2 separate regions of the Homo sapiens genome follow, and region 2 is linked to region 1. Evidence: promoter capture Hi-C in 16 types of primary human blood cells and fetal thymus (Javierre and others, 2016). All regions are on one chromosome and are shown on one strand. The core of a region is centred on a gene start or on the middle of the fragment in contact, and the rest is flanking DNA. Distances in the headings are between cores, read along the strand shown. Region 1 holds the start of GSDMB (gasdermin B). Region 2 has its middle 69 kb from the start of NEUROD2.

What was found. Contacts are between HindIII fragments. The CHiCAGO score rates a contact against its expected background, and 5 or more counts as called.
Region 2: a fragment that was not itself captured here is called in contact with the fragment with the promoter of GSDMB in region 1 in 1 of 17 cell types (activated CD4 T cells); the score reaches 6.2 in activated CD4 T cells.

What each region holds. Positions count from the first base shown.
Region 1 is chr17:39,916,715-39,920,451 of GRCh38, forward strand. It overlaps GSDMB (gasdermin B), which reads right to left and starts at 1,921. Exons shown (of 11, transcript NM_001165958.2): 1 at 1,820-1,921; 2 at 368-616. The coding sequence starts at 602. RefSeq lists promoters at 521-1,150, 701-1,109, 1,833-2,195 and a cis regulatory region at 2,174-2,187. The HindIII fragment of the contact is 7,383 bases long and covers 1,609-3,737 here.
Region 2 is chr17:39,536,684-39,540,420 of GRCh38, forward strand. It overlaps a transcript of CDK12 not described here. Among named protein-coding and RNA genes, the nearest start is that of NEUROD2, 69 kb to the right of the region's middle. The HindIII fragment of the contact is 2,290 bases long and covers 659-2,948 here.

The sequences.
Region 1 (3,737 bases), core at 671-3,170:
TGCTTCCAGCCCTAAAGCCTGCATCCTTTCTTAACCAGTAAGCAAACTGCCCTCATTTACTTATTCATTTAAATGATAAACACATGAGAAGAGCTCGCTAAATTAAAAGCAGATTATTTTACAAGGGAAAAAATGGAAAAGGAAGACCATTTAGGAACGGTTTCCAGTGGAAATAAATCTCCACTTCTCCCACTCTCCTCCCACCATGCAGCTCTTCCGTGCATTTCTTAAATTAAGGTGTGTGGATGTGTACAAATCCCACAGTTTCGTTGTTGATTGGTTGATAACAATGGGGAATTGAGAAGGAGATGGAGTACAAACGGTCAAGGCCTCCTGGCTGGCCACCTGTCATCTACCTTATACTGACCTTGGAGCCCAGAATCCAGTTCATCTAACCACTTGTCCCCATCTGTGTCCAGAATGTCCATCAGGGTGAGGCCTGTTGTGTAGTGCCGGCATCCAAAGAAAGTTCTCTTCTCCCCCACCAGATGGAAGCAGCGGAATCTATCAGCATCAACAAGGCTTCTAACGGCAATCATATCCCCTCCAGCATCCATCTCCTTAACTACAATTCTTGTGATTTCCTCAAATACGCTGAACATTGCGCCTGGACCAACTCAGAAACAGAAGCCAATTTCAGTTTTTGGGAGGAGGGTATTGGTTCAAGTATTTAAATCTTCCACATTTGGCAGCCTGAGGTGTCAGGCCTCTGAACCCAAGCTAAGCCATCATATTCCCTGTGACCTGCATGTATACATCCAGATGGCCTGAAGCAACTGAAGATCCACAAAAGAAATGAAAATAGCCTTAACTGATGACATTCCACCATTGTGATTTGTTCCTGCCCCACCCTGATACAATATAGTCTCCCCGCCGCCGCCCTTAAGAAGGTACTTTGTAATATTCTCCCCTGCCCTTAAGAAGGTACTTTGTAATATTTCTCCACCCTTGAGAATGTACTTTGTAAGCCTATCCCAAACATATAAGAACTAATGATAATGCCACCACCCTTTGCTGACCCCTTTTTTGGACTCAGCTTGCCTGCACCCAGCCTTGTTGCTCATATAAAGCCCGTTTCGTGGACTCTCTTCACATGGACGCACGTGACATGAGGTCAAGGAAGAGCCAAAGGTTCCAGGACAATCAGTACCTGGAATGATTTGCCTGCCTTACTTCTAGAACGTGAGGCAGCCATGACTCAGTAAAGAGGGCTAAACATCACAGATCCCAGATTCTCCTCTGCCCCTCATGGTACCCATCTGGAGGAAAAAAGTAGCAGCTATTGCCCCAAATAGAGAAAGTGAGACCCATTTTCTACATCTCCCACAGCAGAGTTGCCCCCTTGTTCCAAGGGGCCCAAGGGATGGAAAGGCAGGCCCACCATGCCCCAGCCAGACTAGCCCCAACGTTGATGAACAGAGGAACCAGGGAGGAATGACGGGCACGGTTGCCAGACTTCACATTACTAACCTCAACTGGTCGTTTCTTCCCTTGGCTCTGATTCTTGGGCTCCCTGCCTTGCTGTATTCTGCAAGGCAATTGGATGGGTGCCTCCCTACCAACAATTTCCCAATGAGGTGGTGGTAAATTGGCCTCAGAAGAAACAAAAGCTTCCTGGGATCCACTTCCCCATCCTACCTTTGGCCACCTTCCCCTATATCCCTTCTGCCCAGCACAGGCACTTATCCACTCACTGCTTCCTCCTCTGTCTCTGGCCCCATCATGGTGGTTGACTCTCAGTTCACTACCAACCTGGGAATTCTAGGTGTCTGGAAAGACAGTACCCGGGAACCACAGGCCCATCTCAAGTGGTACCCACCTCCTCTCTGACCTCAGCTGTTCACCAGAAATGGAAGTTGTGAGAATCCCCACAGATCTCTGCACAGTTCCTGGCCTCTGAATCTCAGGAAGCTAAAATAATGAAACTGAAAGTTGTCCAGGTGTGGAACTTCCTGGACGGGTGGGTAGGGCTGGGTGCCCCACCTCCCAAGCCTTTAGATAAGCCACCTTATAACTGAGCTGGAGGCAGATTAAGGCCAGAACCCCCCTTTTTTTTTTTTTTTTGAGACGGAGTCTTGCTCTATCGCCGAGGCTGGAGTGCAATGGCGCAATCTCGGCTCACTGCAAGCTCCGCCTCCCAAGTTCACGCCATTCTCCTGCCTCAGCCTCCCGAGTAGCTGGGACTACAGGTGCCTGCCACCACGCCCAGCTAATTTTTTTGTGTGTGTTTTTTAGTAGAGACGGGGTTTCACCGTGTTAGCCAGGATGGTCTCAATCTCCTGACCTTGTGACCCACCCACCTCGGCCTCTCAAAGTGCTGGGATTACAGGTGTGAGCCACCATGCCCGGCCAGAACCCCTTCTTCTTCTTGTACCTAAGGAGTGGGTAGGAGATCCTGGTATGTATTCTAGGTGAGTGTGGGCCAGACAATGGTGCACACCGTGGCGCCCTGGGCCATGCAATCCAGTGTGTTTGGAATAGAGAAATGGAATATGAGTAGGTATCAAGTGCCAGCAGGCAATGGCTGTGTCTGTGCCAGGGACATGAGGACCATAACCCAGCAGAACCAGCTGCCCAAATGCCATGCGACGGTCAACACTGAAGACCCAGGACAACAGCAGCTAACACCTGGAGGCAACAGGGTGGGCCTGTAAGGAGCACTCAGCCTCCCTCCCCATCTCGTGCTCCCGTGTACACTCTCAAGGAGATGCTGGTCTTCCTTATCTGGATGCCATCTGGCTTCTCCACCTACCTCCTTCTCCAGGGAGAGGCCTCTGACCTCACCCATGTCCTCTCTCAGAGATAACCACCCCGGTGAGCCCAGCCTGTCTTCCAGCCTCTGCATGCCTCAGTTCTGAAAGAACATTTGAAGGGATGACAGGCCAGGCGTGGTGGTTCATGCCTGTAATCCCAACACTTTCAGAGGCCGAAGCAGGCAGATCACTTGAGGCCAGGAGTTCAAGACCAGCCTGGCCAACATGGCGAAACCCCGTCTCTACCAAAAAAAAAAAAAAAAAAAAAATTAGCCAGATGTTTTGGCACACACCTGTAATCCCAGCTACTCAGGAGGCTGAGGCATGAGAATTGCTTGAACCTGGGAGGCGGAGGTTGCAGTGAGCCAAGATGGTGCCACTGCACTCCAGCCTGGGCAACAGAGCAAGACTCAGTCTCAAAAAAATAAATAAATAAATAAATAAATAGACGACAGTGGTGGTAGTAACAATTACAATTATAATAATATGGCTACCATATATTGAGTATTTACTATATGCCAGGCACTGTGCTAATGCTCACAACAGCCCTAAGAGGCATTATCTTTACACAACAGTGGAATAAACTGAAGCTCAGAGAAGTTGACACAGCAACATGGCTAATAAGTGGCAAAGCTGGGATTTGAACCCAGATCGTTGTTGATGTTCTCCAGCACCTCACCCTGACTATACTCTTGCAGGCTGGTGAAAGCAACCAGGGCACCCCTACTCCCAGGAGTGAAAGCAGTGGCTATATTTCTCTTTCCAATACTGTGTGGGCTCTACTCGGACAGGGGTGGTGGCTGGACTTGGGCAAATATCCCACACTCCCTGACACTCACTCCAAGGGTGCTGTGATGGTGGACCGGGGCTAGAGACCCCAGGCTGCTGGGGACAGCTCCTCCCTTCTACCTGGGACTTTGTGCCTCTCCTGGGAATAGCAGCTGATACTCCCCAGAACACGCTGGAAGGTCAGTGCCCTCGTGA
Region 2 (3,737 bases), core at 554-3,053, 380 kb before region 1:
AATGTCCTGGTGATTAATCACTGGGGTGCCAAAACACTTTGACCACTGGATTTCTCTCATATCTCTTATCTCAAAAAATTAGTACTCCAAGGCTGAGAGAAAGAGACTGATACTGAGTTTGTCTTTCATACCCTCTAAGTGGGTAGTTTGTTAGTGGACCATTCTCAATTTGCAACCTTCAGCTACAGCATACTTCTGTGGAATAAGAAGGTATAGCCATGAAATAAATTTACTTAGACCCAGGTTCTCTAGGACCTGTAAATGGATGGACTTTTTGATATCTTGCTCTGGCATGTTTGTAAACTACAGATAGTATTGACAGCTCTAAAGGAATGAAGGGCATTTTATCCAGGCCAAACCAACCCTGAGGGAGGCAGCATGAAGAAACCTTTAAGAAGTCCACCATATAGCAGTCAGAGCTAAGTAAAGAACAAAGTCTGAGTCTTGGAGGATGTCTTTTCTCTACCTAAGGGGCCTATCTGATGGACTCTCTAGGAGGGGATCCTTCTCCCTCCTCAGTCTCAGAACTACAATAGTGCCTAATGAGGGACACCCTTGGTGAGGATCAGCTTGTAGATGACCCTCCTCACCAAGGCTAATGCAATTTTGAATGCATTTGGACCTGGAGAAAACAGGCTGAATTCAAAGACCTAAAGAAAGCTTAGTAGCCTGGTCCCTTTTTTAAAGTCTGGAACTTTTTAGTTTGGCCTTATACTAGTGTTAATATTTATAATTTCTGTTAGGGGACCAAAAGTCTCAGAAAATGAAGCAATATAAGAGGTGGAAATAAGGGTAAGAAGGGAGAACTAGAAGAGTCTGGTAGCTGGGCTGCAGAAAGAGACTTGGGGTATAATTCCTTATTTTTATTTATTTATTTATTTATTTATTTATTTATTTATTTATTTTTGAGATGGACTTGCTCTTCTTGGAGTGCAGTGGTGTGATCTCGGCTCACTGCAGCCTCCACCTCCCAGGTTCCAGCAATTCTCCTGTCTCAGCCTCCCAAGTAGCTGGGATTACAGGTGCGTGCCACCATGCCCAGCTAATTTTTTGTATTTTTAGTAGTGACAGGGTTTCACCATGCTGGCCAGGCTGGTCTTGAACTCCTGACCTTGTGATCCACCCGCCTCGGCCTCCCAAAGTGCTCGGCCTCCCAAAGTGAGCCACCGCGCCCAGCTTGGATATAATTGCTTATAAAGAAGAGAGGGATACAGGATGGAAGGAAAAATTATGGTTGAGTTAGTGAAATTTATAGGATAATTTTCTTAGAGATTCACAGTTCATTTCAGGAAGACCCCATTAAAGCACCAATACTGAGTAAAGAATTCCCCTTAATTACAGTAGTCTTACCTTTAGGGTTGGAGGATGGGCCAAGAACCCCTAGGATACTATGAAGACATTTTCTGTAGGGAAACTAGAAAAGATGGGCAAATATGTTAAGCAATATGTAAGGACATTTACTTAACACTGTTATCTACATAGTTCAAGAGAGTAATTCAAGAATAAGGAGGAATGACATGGATGCATCACATTAAACAGTTATTTGTATTGTTTGAATTTCAAAACTCCTGCAAGTGGTTTTAGGTATGCTAAGTCAACCTAGAGACTAGTAGTATTCCTCTGCCACTCATTTTAGATCCAAATGATGGCAGTGCATAGAAGAACAAACGAGAATATGCGAATTAGAGTCACAGAATGTTAGAGCTACAAAAGAAGATTAGTTTGTTTGGTTCAGTACCATCTTTAACCAGTAAAAAATGCCCAGAAAGGCCGAGGAACATGTATGGTGTTGCGAGAAAGAAGGGAGAGAAAGGGAACTAACATTGTTGGGTACCTGCTATGTGTCAGGCGCTGCCTAAGTGCTTTGTTTTTATCTTGATTGATTAGCACCTTGAGGCTAAGGGATAGAATGAATAAATGGCAAACCCCGGCTACCTGGGAGCGGTGGCTCACGCCTGTAATCCCAGCACTTTGGGAGGCCAAGGTGGGTGGATCACGAGGTCAGGAGATCGAGACCATTCTGGCTTACACGGTGAAACCCCATCTCTACTAAAAATACAAAAAATTAGCCAGGCGTGGTGGCACAAGCCTGTAGTCCCAGCTTCCCGGGAGGCTGAGGCAGGAGAATTTGCTTGAACCCAGGAGGTGGAGGTTGCAGTGAGTGAAGATTGCGCCACTTCACTCCAGCCTAGGCGACAGAATGAGACTCCATCTCAAATAAATACATACATACATACATACATACATACATACATACATACATACATACATAAGGCTAGTATCCTGAGCAATATGTAGGAGATAAAAGGGAGTGGTAGACCACGTTTTTCTCTCTAACCACACAGGGCTAAACTAGAGGAAGTAAAGAGTCAGCATTTGAGAGTGAGGTTAATCTAAGGAAGTATTTGCCAAACTGTTGAAAGCGACTCATAAATAACTTCTCCATTCCTAGAGACCTTCCAAAACATGTTGATAAGAGTTAGGACTGATAGGGACCAAGATTACTCTTGGCTCTGGAATTGATTTTCATTTTGGAAAATCAAGTCATGACCTGAGAATGTGGGATTAATTGTACAAATAGGAAACAAAATGGAGCTTCTCATCCTAAAATGTCTTCAAAGAGAATAGTATTTATCTACCATGAATGAAGGAGATAAATTCCTTTGGTGACTGTACTTGTTTTTTTGTTTTGTTTTGTAACACTTTGAAGTCATGAAACTGAATTTGTAATCTTGGGGAGATTCAGTGCCAAGTTCAAGGCAGGTGGCAATTTGAAAATTGACAGAATAAGATTGTGTTCCTCATGGTTGTTTGATATAATATCCCAATAGTTATACCATGAGGGCTGCTTCAGTGGGGAGCATTAATATCATTAGCAGAGGCATGTCCTGTGTACAGACAGGACAACCTCTGAGGAAGAAGACTGGGGGAGGGTCCCACCTTCAGGAAGCTTCTGGGTCTTGTGAGAGAGGTCAGTCTTACAGCTGGTGGAGAGTGGGGAATCTGTAAGTCAACATATCAATGCAGGTTGTAATATAAAACTATTATAATAAGAGGAAACCAAAGGAAAGAAATAATCGGAGAAAGTGGACTTATTCAGAAACAATTATTTGAAAATAAAGAAGATAGGGGACATAGAACAGAAGAGGAAGGTGAGCAGTGGGAGGAATCTCATGGAAGAGGGCTCATGTATGTTTTGTGCAGAGGCTGTGAATTGGCTGACCAGAATGGTACAGGAAAGGAGTATTAGGAAATGAAGTTGGAGGAGCAATCTCATTGGCTTGAATGAGGAATTTGAGTTGTTAAGCAGTAGCAGGGAACAGAGCATGATGAGATGAAAATCACATTGAGGACTTTTGTAGCAGTACTTGGTCAAGGAAGCAGGAAAGTTCACTAAAATATTATTGTTCTTGCCAAGACATGAAGCACTGAGAGTTTACAGTAGAGTAAGACAAGGAGAATCAGAGGAAAGAAAGTGGGTCCATAGGAATTAGCAAGGCTTGGTCACAGCTTGGATGTGAGGAGAGGGATAAAAGCCTCAGGATGATGATCCCAAGACACATTTGTGCTGTTGGTGGTGATGAAAGCTTGATAAGAGGGAACTGCTTTGTTTTTAAGTAGGAAGTGTTTTGTCTTATTAACCAATTGATAGGATGTGTCAATGTTCAGTATTGCAGAGTCTAGGAGGGGGCACTGCCCCTGGAGGATAGTGGAGCATGCACCATGTGTCCAGATGA